Regions from separate parts of the Homo sapiens genome. Here all the other regions are linked to region 1. The links are contacts of gene promoters, found by promoter capture Hi-C in human tissues and cell types (Jung and others, 2019). All regions are on one chromosome and are shown on one strand. The core of a region is centred on a gene start or on the middle of the fragment in contact, and the rest is flanking DNA. Distances in the headings are between cores, read along the strand shown.

Region 1 (2,774 bases), core at 75-2,574:
TCGGCCAGGCGCCTTGCCCCGGGGCCCGGGCCCGTCCCCCTCCCCGGGCTGGCGGGTCCCACGCGCGCCACCGCGCCCAACACGCACCTTCAACGCGCCCCGGGCCGGGCCCCTGGGGACTGCGTGGCCGGGTCCGAGGGGCACGAAACGCTCCTCGCCGTCCTCGTCGTCTTCGTCGCCGTCCACCACCTCGACGACCACCTCCTCGTCCTCCTCTTCCTCGTCGTCATCCTCCTCCTCCGCGCCCCCTCGGGGCTTCTCCTCCACACGCCCGAGCCCCCTCCGCCGCCTGCTCCCGCCCTCCTCGTCCTCGTCTTCCTCCCCTAGAAGCAGCAGCACCGGCGACGAGGCGGCGGCGGCGGCCCCGGTGGCCCGAGGGGGGCCGGTCCCGGCGCTGCGCGGCGGCGGCGGCAGCGGCGGCCTCCAGCTCTCCGGGGCGGGCGCCGGGGCCGGGCCCGGGACAGGGGGCGGGAGCCCGGGTAGGGCGGCTTCCTTGGCGGGCGCGGGCGCCGGCCCGGCAGGCTGCAGCGCGGCGCCCCCCCGGCGGCTGCCCAGGCTGGAGCGCTTGGCTAGACGCCGCGCCTGCATGCCTGAGCGCGGGGTTGCGGGCCGCGGCGCGGGGCCGGAGAGTTTGTCACCTCCTCTTCCTCCTCTGCCTCCGCCGGTGGCCGCAGGGCCGGGGACTCGCGGCCGCAAGGGGCTGCAGGAGCCGCCGGCCAGGACCCGCGGCTGCCACTGGCTGCAGAGGCGCGGGCGCCGCCTTCGCTGGACCGGCCGGCGGGGACGCCGGCGGCCGGCGGCTACGGCGGGGCGGCGCGGCGGCCGCGGGCGGGGGTGGGTGTGAGCGAGCGGCGCGCTGCCGCCTCCGCCGCCGCCGCCGCCGCCCGGGAGCCGCGGGCCGCGCTGCGCTCCATGCGGCCGGCGGCCGAGCCCGCGCGCGCCTCTCCCGGCCGGCTGCGCCCGCGCGCTCCGGGCCTACCGCTGCCGTGCCTCGGCGCGAGCTGTTTGTGTTGTATGTTTTCCACCACCGCCCCCCTCTTCGCGAGCCATTCCTCACAACCCTCCGGTCCCCCCGCTCAGACAAAACCCGGACTGGATTTTTTTTTTCTCTTACCCACAGTCTCCGAAAGTCTGGCGCTTCGAAGCAGTTGGCCCTGACACCAGGGCAAACGCTTAACCGCAGCCCATTCTTCCCTCCGGAGGGAGGGGAGTAGACTTCGCTGGAAGTAAGGTTGTCTGTCAAAGTTAGACTTTGAACGTAGAGATTTGCTACAAGTCATTTTAATGGACACTGATGTGCATGGCAGCTACTCCTGAGCTTGTGTGAAATCAAGGAAGGTGTACCAATCTGAGGTTTGGGATGAATTCCTAATATGAATCATCAGAGTCGCTTAGATTTTCGAAACACTGTTTCATGAGCGATTGTCTACCAATCTCACACTCTTTGAACGCACCACTCTAGGCCCTGCGATTGAGCTGCCTTGGCTCTGTGCTGAGTGTGTAGGTCTTTCAGCTTTTACTCCTGCTATTCTACCTTGAGTGCCTGATTTTAATGGCTGAATTCCAAGAAGCTTTCTGTTTGCACTGTCTGATCTGTAGACTCTCTTCTGGCATTGTTCAGGACTTTGAAGAAACAAATGGGTGGGAGTTCAAGATCGTTTGAGTTGGTTACTTAAGAAATTAATATGAAGTAAGACCAAATCTGGAAATCAAGCACATAACATGACTAATTTTGCCATTTTCTGACGATTTTTAGGTGTGATAAAGAAAATATATTTGCTATTGCGTGGGGTTAGGCTATGTAGTAAGTGGTATTTCTTCTTTTATTTATTTTAATTTTTATTTATATATATTTCTTTATTTTTCAGATGGAGTTTCGCTCTTGTTGCCAAGGCTGGAGTGCAATGTCATGGTCTGGGCTCACTGTAACCTCCGCCACCTGGGTTCAAGCGATTCTCCTGCCTCAGCCTCCTGAGTACCTGGGATTAAAGGCGCGCTCCACCATGCCATGCTAATTTTGTATTTTTCGTAGAGACAGGGTTTCACCATGTTGGCCAGGCTGGTCTCAAACTCCTGACCTCAGATGATTTGCCTGCCTTGGCCTCCCAAAGTGCTGGGATTACAGGTGTGAGCCACCGTGCCCGGCCTTAAGTCGTATTTCTTACATTCAAATCATACCCCCAATTCCATCCCTGTAGAGGAGGGCTGGGGAGGATCTTACGCATCAAATACCCTGGTAGGCACCTCCGTGGGGCCAGAATAAAAGGTGTATTCACCTTCAGTTAATTATTGTTGGACATTTAACATCATATGCTCTGTTAGACACTTGAATGGGGCTCATTAAATGCTCACTTATGGTGGCTTCCAACTGTTGAACAGGGATGATGACAAAGATTCTAAAATGAACTTTTTGTTCTCCCTGAATCAGATTAGCTTCCTGATGTACCTATTTCAGGTGATGAAACTCTCATTATAATCATTTGAGCCCAAAATAGCGGTATCATTTTAACTCCCTTCTCTACCTTATCCCTAGAGGCAATTGCCCACAAGTCCAACCCATTGTTCTTTCTAAAATGCATTTTGAATCCACCCCTTCCTTTCCATTCCCAAAGCTCTTACAGCATTTTGTGACTTCAAAAGTGGAAGTTTCTAACAGTTCTACACACCCATTTTCTCACCCACACACCCTCCCTTTCCCTCCTCAGATGCCACCACCAGATTTATGTTTCCGAAACCCCATTTAGATCACACCATTTTCTTGTTGGACTTTATAT
Region 2 (2,774 bases), core at 146-2,645, 360 kb before region 1:
TATTTTGAGCAAGTCAGAAGTATGTATTGGCATTTGCTAGATAACATTTATTCTACAAGTAATTGTAGGGCATGTGTCTTAAACAATAGAAAAACCAAGGCAAGTAAGATAGGCGCAGGAGTTTGTACTGATTTAGACAAGAAATATGGATCATAAAGCTCAAACTTTGTTTAGAGATGTGAAACTAACAGTAGGTTGACCTCCACAGGCTACCACTTCCGTTCCATTCTTTATCCCTCACACAGAAATGCTTCACTTTAGGATTCTTACAACTTACTCCCAAACACTAATTAGGTGCAGCTATAATGAGTTATAGTTGAATTTATGTAGCTATGGGTTCAGGGGGCTTTCTTTACATCAAAAACCGGTGACGGTATTCCAAGTACAGCACAGTTTACAGTAATAGTAATGATGTGCAGTTTTAAAATATTTTAGAGACATTTTTACTTTGTTGGGTATTAAGACTTTCACCAAAAAGGAATCTTAAGTTATCTTAATTTTTAAGAGGGACAGCATGTCTGAGAACATATATGGGAAGTGATTCTTAGGAAATCCATTTGGGTAAACATTCTTTACTTTTAAAACCGTGATGCCCATGGGAGGAAAATGTATTATTGCTGCTTGAGTGAACTGTATCTTGGCAAGGAGTGTTTTAGGCAGAGGAAAGCTTAAGCACTTTGAATTGGGAGCATGCTTATTATGGACGAGGAACAGAACAGAGGTCAGTATAGTTGGAATAGAGTGACTGAAAGGAAAGGGTGGTTGGAAGCCAGGGCTCCACCGGGTAAAGCTTTGGAGGATATTGAAAGTCTCTAGCTTTTACTGTGAGGGTGGGTAGTCTTTGCAGCCTTGTAAGCTGAGTGGTGACCTGACTTAAGGTAGTGTTTTAAAGAATCTGTGATTTCTCTGCTGAGAACAGACTCTAGGAAGGCAACAGTGGAAGTAGGGAGACAAGTTTTTGGTGGCTACTGAAGACAGTCCAGGGGCTAGAGCTCATGATTGATTGGATCAGGGTGGCAATAGTTGTGGAAGATTCTGGATATATATTCCTATTGCCAAAAGGTTCCTGGTCCAAGGAATTACATTAAAGATGGAATTAAATCCAGTGGATATAATTCCTGTCCTTGCTAATCTGAAGATCCTTAGGCACATGTATTATTCTATTTTGATTCTATCTTCTGCACGTTATTTTATTTAAGGATGGAGTTAGAAAGAAATTTCAGGGAACCCTGAGAGCATTCAGTTACCTTGCCCTAATATGTCTGAAACAAGGATCTAGTAATAGAACTTTACATTTTTAATTATCCTATATATATTCTTTATTCTTAGTCTATTTTTCTGTACCAATTAATCTTAAAATTATGTGCCTGTCCTGGATTCGTAATAAGGAGAATATCCCATTTGATAGCTGGGCTTTAGGGTGATAAAATCTTAAGTGATAGAGTAGTTAGAAAAAGCAACTATTAGGAGTTCTGGTTTGAATATACCCATCCTTTAAAAGGGTAATTTCTTGTGGCGTCTGCACAATTAAATGATATTCATGTTTTTTTCTCCCGCCCGCCACCTTTTTTTTTTTTTTTTTTTTTTTTTGAGACATGATCCCACTGTGTCGCCCTGGCTGGAGTGCAGTGGCGCAATCTTGAATCACTGCAACTCCCGGGCTCAAATGATCTTCCCCAGTAGCTGGGACTGCAGGCACACACCACCATGCCCAGCTAATTTTTAAAATTTTTTTGTAGAGATGGAGATGGAGTTTCTCCATGTTGCCCAGGCTGGTTGCAAACTCCTGGGCTCAAGTGATCCTTCTGCCTCAGCCTCGCAAAGTGCTGGGATTATATGCATGAGCCACTGTGCCTGGCCCATGATTAATTTTTTTAACTGAATTTCTTCTACTATAGTTGAATGGTATTTTGTTTAATTGTGATAATAAAGTAGGAAGACATCTCAATTTTAGACTAAAATACAGTTTTATTTAACTCATACTATGAAATTCTATCATAATGCCTGTAGGATATAAATATAATTTCTGTTTTCTGACTCTGATGAGAGACAGATCTTTATTACCATTATTAATTCAGAATTTTTACTTGTACTAGGTACTTCACATGATTTCAAGTATGGTTTGATGCCTGGTCCTTCAAATGATTTCAAGTATGGATTGATACCAGGTACTTCAAATGATTTCAAGTATGGATTGATACCAGGTGCTTCAAATGATTTCAAGTATGGATTATTGCCAGAATCTTGGCCAAAACAAGAAACCTGGGAAAATGGCAAGTATTAGTCAACTAAACAAATACAGAATTAATTAAATAATTGTTAACAATTAAAAGCTTTCATGTTCTGCATTTTTTAAAAACCAAGTAGCAGTAGCTCCACATAATTGCTGTTCTCAGAGATAGAGATAAGAAGTTTTGATAGCAAGTTTTCTGTTTAATGTGTAATAAGCACTTTCTCTTTTTTTAATTCTCATAGGTGAATCATCTCTAATCATGAACAAGTTAAAATGCCCTCATTGTAGCTATGTAGCCAAATACAGACGAACACTAAAAAGGCACTTGCTCATTCACACAGGAGTGAGATCATTTAGCTGTGATATTTGTGGAAAACTGTTTACTCGAAGAGAACATGTAAAAAGACATTCCCTGGTAAGTAACTTTAAATACAGCTGATCTTTGAGATAAACTATATTTATGTCAGTGAAGTTTAAAGGGATTTAAACAGTTAATTGTGAATTTAAGGAAGATTGTCTCCTAAATTGCTTTAAACAGTTT
Region 3 (2,774 bases), core at 104-2,603, 340 kb after region 1:
GAGTATAATTTATCTCGCTCAACATTCAGGAATAGACTTTTAAAAGACTTTTTTACTAAAAAGAGAAACATTTTCAAGCCTCTAAAGTGCTCTAAGCTCCTCAGAGAAAAATGCTAAGTACAGGGTATTATTATTTCATGAGCTTTGGGCTTACTTTGACAGTCATTATAGTTGTTCCATTTATAATATGCTGGGACGGCTTCCATAAAGTGCATCTTTTGTATGTGCATTTGTAATTCATTAAAAGCGCACACTCATTTTGGGAAATGCCCTTTCAGAGATACGGGCATTGAAGTTGTGAGAAGGCAGCTACTTTGCCCAAATTACTTAGTGCCATCTGAGGGCACAGAGAGGGCCAGTCCCAACTGGAGCTCTTGGCATGATGTCTTCTGTTTCAAAATAGGGTCTCAGCAACTCTCTATGAATTATTTACACGAGAGAGATTTTTGAGAATTTCACTTTGCGGACAGCTCTTTTGAGGATATAATTTGGCAAGGAATTATCATCCTTGCCTCTGTTTCTATAAAGAGGCCTGAAGACTGTAATAGGAAAACCATTAGATTTGAAAAATGTAATTTTATTTTACTTACAAATTTTATAATCTACAGGAAAAAAAGCCCAATCCATTTCTTTGTTAATATCATTCAATTGCAGCATATTTCATTTGTAAATGCAGTATGCTTTCCACTATTTTAATAAGCATTTCTGCTGCTTCTCTTGGGGTTTTGTGATCGCAGTCAATAGCCATAAACTGTGAAGATGTAACAGGATGTTTCATCTCATTAAGATGCCACGCAGCCAGGATTCCTTCGTCTTCCTTCTTACATCTGATTTGTGCTCCTCAAATATGACCTTTAAGGCCTTCATTGCTTTGCAAACACATTGCATGTCCCAAGGGCACATAATTAAGTAGGTCACATGCTTCCTATTACATATTAGTGCTTGCCTTTCAACATGCATTTCCTCTGTTCCACTGTGGGAAAATTCTCTTTTTCATAAAGCATTCCTGAATAAGTTCTTGGCACTTTCCATAGAAAAAATGTCCTTGATATATTGTGGGAATACTTAAGGTCATGTGGGATTTCGTCAGTCATGAGAATAATTGGTCTCACATTTTTTAAAGAGTAGAGTCCACTTACACTAATTGTAGTATTGCCTTAGGCTTGTATTTCTAGAGCATAAAAGAACTCTCAAGGATAAGAGTTTCAGTTGTACCCTTTGCCAATTAAAGTATGTCAATAATTTTTGAATAATGCTCTCTATAAAATGTCACAATAAAAAAACCATTTCAAATGTATTTTGATAATCTTTGACATTAATAAATTGACTTGCATAAATGCATATGGACTTGGTCGAGTTTCTATTAATTCCTTTTGAAAATGGTATTTCCTATGCATGCTGTAGGATTTGGCAATCAAATAAATAAATATGCATGCGGTAATTGTTTATAATTTTGCTCTCATAATTTTAACAACTGAGTGTGAATTTTGAGCAACAAGATAAAATTTCATTTTGCTATGATTATTGTAAAATATTTTAAAATATTTATTACAAGTAGATATTTTCTTTTTTCAAATTTATTTATTGAAATTAACAAATAAACTTGTATGTATTTAGTATAAGTAGATTTTGAAGAAAATCAGGATTAGTGGCTCTGTCCCTCCACCTCATCATATTATCCTTTGTAAACTCAGCAAATTTTCTCCACCCGAGTAATCAACTGGATTAATTCAAGATGAAGCATTTGTGCCCTAATTAACAGGCCCATTTAATTAAATTGGATTTCGTGACTACTGACTTCTTCCTCCTAGTGAGACTAATAAAGAGATAGCAACAAAACTCAATTGAGTTTCACATGAAGATTGTGTTAAGAAATCAATAGGAGATGAGATGGTAGCAATGAAGACCCAGAACCGTATAGAACAGTGCTTCCCAGATTTGATGAGCTTAAAAATCACCTGGAGATCCTGTTAAAACTGGAATTTCAATTCAGTCATCCTGGAGTGGGCCAGAGATTGATTCTTTGTTTCTAAAGAGCCCTCAGGTGATGCTGAAGCTGTTTGGAGAGAGGAACCATGTTTTGAATAGCAAGTTCATAGACAAGTGTTGTATCACAGTTTACTATTTGTATAAGTACTATTGTTCAGTGCACAGTTCTGTGGGACCACTCAAGGATGAGCTGCCTCCTTTGGTTGTAAAAGAAGAAATACCTGAGGGAATTGTAGCAATGCATTGGGTTTCAAAATGTACCTTCCGGATTCAAATACAACTGTTTGGCTTCTCTCATCTTTGTCCCTTGCTGTTACTTTTGCACCAACCTAATAGAACTGTCCTGAACTACAGCTATTGACTTTAGGCAGGATGGCTGGTGTTGATTTTATTCTGAAATATATCATTGCGTGATAGTGACAAGTGGAAAGCATGGGCCTAAAGATATTATAGACATAGTCACAAAGGGCGACTTACTTGGGGGAACACGGGTGTGGAGGTGCTGTCAGACTCTGCTCATGTCTGGGTGCATGCTGGTGTGTGCTCATGTGTGGCTTACACCCTTAGTCAGGTGGATTTGCACTACAATGGACTTTTTACTTTTACTTTTTTTTTGGACCATGGAATGAAGCTTTCATTTTCAATATTCTTCATTATGAGGACCTGCCTTTTTTTTTTTTTTTTTTTTTTTTTTTGAGACACGGTTTCACTCTGTCACCTAGACTGGAGTGCAGTGGCATGATCTCAGCTCACTGCAGCCTCAAACTCCCAGGCTCAAGTGATCC
Region 4 (2,774 bases), core at 200-2,699, 300 kb before region 1:
CCTTCATGAGGAAGTAAGTAAATAGGGATTTTCTCTTTTTTGAAGAAACTAGATATTTTTTCTTACACAGTGAAACACAGGTCTTTCTTCATTACTCCATGCGGTGGTCACACTTAGCCCCATCAGAATAGTTATACAGGCACAGTCACACACCAAGGAACAGTTCAACACACACACGCACACACACACAAACACATGCACACATTCTTCAATAGGATGTTTTTCAAATTGGCAAACATGAAGAAAAATTTTCAACTTTTATACTTCCAAAGTTCCTAAAAATAGCTGAGTCTATTTGATAGCAATTTTTGGCATTTTTGAGGGAAATAAGTTTACTCATATTTTCAAATATGTAAGCTTAAACTGCATAATTAAAGAATTCAATATCATCTTTAATTTGTTTTATTGTCTTTTTTTTTTTGAGATGGAATTTCACTCTTGTCGCCCAGGCTGGAGTGCAGTGGTGGGATCGTAGCTCACTGCAACCTCCACCTCCCTGGTTCAAGCCATTCTCCTGCCTCAGCCTCCCAAGTAGCTGGGACTACAGGCATGTGCCACCATGCCTGGCTAATTTTTGTATTTTTAGTAGAGATGGGGTTTCATCATGTTGGTCAGGCTGGTCTCGAACTCCTGACCTCAAATGATCTGCCTGCCTAGGCCTCCCAAAGTGCTGGGATTACAGGCATGAGTCACCGCCCCCGGCCCTGTTTTATTGTTTTAGTATTTAACTACTAAATGTGCAGTTTCATCATTAGCTTTTTTTGTACTTTTGTGTTTTTATTTTTAATTTTTTATCATTAGCCTTTAAAAAATCAAAATGAAAGTATTATTGGATAACATAAAGCTTCCCTTGATTTCAAAAAATTCCAGTTTTGCCTACTGCTTGAAACTTTAGGTTATGGTCTCATGAGCATGGTATTTCACCTGAGATCCATTTCTTTGGATTTCAATGTCTTCCTATGTAAGATGGGTATCTTTCTGCTCCAGAACAGTATTGTTACCATGAGGTAATCTATGTTTAAGAGTGTCATAGGAGGCAGAAGGGAATCACTTGGCTGTGTCATAAAATTTAATATGTAGAGTTTTCTTTTCTTTCTTTTTTTTTTTTTTTTTTTTTGAGATGGAGTCTCGCTCTGTCGTCCAGACTGGAGTGCAGTGGCGCGATCTTGGCTCACTGCAACCTCTGCCTCCCGGGTTCAAGCGATTCTCCTGCCTCAGCCTCCCAAGTAGCTGGGACTACAGGCGTGTGCACCATGCCTGGCTAATTTTTTGTATTTTTAGTAGAGACGGGGTTTCACCGTGTTAGCCAGGATGGTCTCGATCTCCTGACCTCGTGATCCACCCGCCTCAGCCTCCCAAAGTGCTGGGATTACAGGCGTGAGCCACTGCGCCCGGCCTATTTTCATAATTTAAAAAACAATTTATTGTTGATAGTGTTTCATGCAGTGGTTATAAGATCATTTTCTTAAAAATTTTAAGCTTTTAATTATTTGGGTTTTTTAAAAAAAAATGGCTGAATTTTAAAAATTGCATTTAGCCTGAGGACTTAATGTCTGTTTTGTGTTTATTGTCTGATGAATTTCTTCTGTTATTTCTATTTACTTATTATGGAATCATGAGATTTTAGAGCTATGAGCCATCATGGAAGTTGCCTAGTTCTTATCCAACCATTTTATTTGATAATGGAGGCCCAGAGTCGGTTGAATAGTGGTTCAAAGTCACCCAGTGTCTACTCATCTGCTTTTGTCTGAATGAATTAATATTTGCATGAGACTTCTGAGAAAGATCCCGTTTCTTTGATGGAACAACTCTTCCAGCAGAATAGGGTTCATTGTACCCTAAGGTGGGCAGCAGCTGAACACCAACATTGGGCTTTCTGGTGAGCAAGGCCTCTCCAGAATGCACAGAGACTTAGACTAAGTCTTTCTTCTAAGATCTGGTCATCCAAGTCCTGCCCCCTTGAAACACCTGTTCAATGGTATGCTTATGCCAGACTGATCCCTTCTGTGAAGTTTTCCCCTCTGAGCTGAGACATAGGTTAGGTGAGATTCCTGCTATGTCCTTTCTTATTTTGTCCTGGGGTCCCAGACACAAACCTCAGTAGGAGGCAGCACTTTATAACTGAAAAAAACCCTGTACAGAGGGTTCTGCCACAAATGTATGACCCCAGGTAAGTCACTTAACATCTCTGGTTTGTAATAGAGTGAATTAGATGATCTCTAAGATAAATGAGGGGGAGAAAAACAGATGTTTAATTGAATCATAAAAGGAGACTAATAGACTAATTTTTTGTATTTATTTTATTTTTATTTTTTATTTAATTAATTAATTTATTTATTTTTGAGACAGAGTCTTGCTCTGTCGCCCAGGCTGGAGTGCAGTATTGTGATCTTGGCTCACTGCAACCTCCGCCTCCTGGGTTCAAGCGATTCTCCCACCTCAGCCTCCCAAGTAGCTGCGATTACAGGCGCAAGCAGCCACACCTAGCTAATTTTTGTATTTTCATTAGAGGCAGAGTTTCACCATGTTGGCCAGGCTGGTCTCGAACTCCTGACCTCAAGTGATCTGCCCGCCTCGGCTTCCCAAATTGCTGGGATTACAGATGTGAGCCACCACGCCCGGTGTATTATTATTTTTAAAGTCATGGTAATAAGTAGCGGTTAACATGGAACAAGGATATAAGTATATTTTAGAGAATCTGGAAGTCAAGGTAGGAAGAGCTAAAACGTGATGTGGAAAGTCACAGGGAGTCTTTGGAGACTGCCTACTTACCT

What was found. The method cuts DNA at HindIII sites, captures the fragments that hold promoters and counts their contacts. A contact is called where the count stands out against the background at its distance.
Region 2: a contact is called between a fragment that was not itself captured here and the fragment with the promoter of ZNF704 in region 1, in 1 of the 25 tissues and cell types used here (hippocampus).
Region 3: a fragment that was not itself captured here is called in contact with the fragment with the promoter of ZNF704 in region 1 in 2 of the 25 tissues and cell types used here (dorsolateral prefrontal cortex and thymus).
Region 4: a fragment that was not itself captured here is called in contact with the fragment with the promoter of ZNF704 in region 1 in 4 of the 25 tissues and cell types used here (adrenal gland, aorta, dorsolateral prefrontal cortex and 1 more).

Annotation. Positions count from the first base shown.
Region 1 is chr8:80,873,457-80,876,230 of GRCh38, forward strand. It overlaps ZNF704 (zinc finger protein 704), which reads right to left and starts at 1,325. Exons shown (of 9, transcript NM_001033723.3): 1 at 1,115-1,325. RefSeq lists a silencer at 4-204. The HindIII fragment of the contact is 4,011 bases long and covers 1-2,774 here.
Region 2 is chr8:80,516,307-80,519,080 of GRCh38, forward strand. ZBTB10 (zinc finger and BTB domain containing 10) reads left to right here. Exons shown (of 6, transcript NM_001105539.3): 4 at 2,097-2,273; 5 at 2,476-2,648. Among named protein-coding and RNA genes, the nearest start is that of LINC02986, 22 kb to the right of the region's middle. The HindIII fragment of the contact is 4,008 bases long and covers 1-2,774 here.
Region 3 is chr8:81,215,930-81,218,703 of GRCh38, forward strand. No RefSeq gene overlaps it. Among named protein-coding and RNA genes, the nearest start is that of FABP5, 63 kb to the right of the region's middle. The HindIII fragment of the contact is 4,498 bases long and covers 1-2,774 here.
Region 4 is chr8:80,569,974-80,572,747 of GRCh38, forward strand. No RefSeq gene overlaps it. Among named protein-coding and RNA genes, the nearest start is that of LINC02986, 32 kb to the left of the region's middle. The HindIII fragment of the contact is 3,112 bases long and covers 1-2,774 here.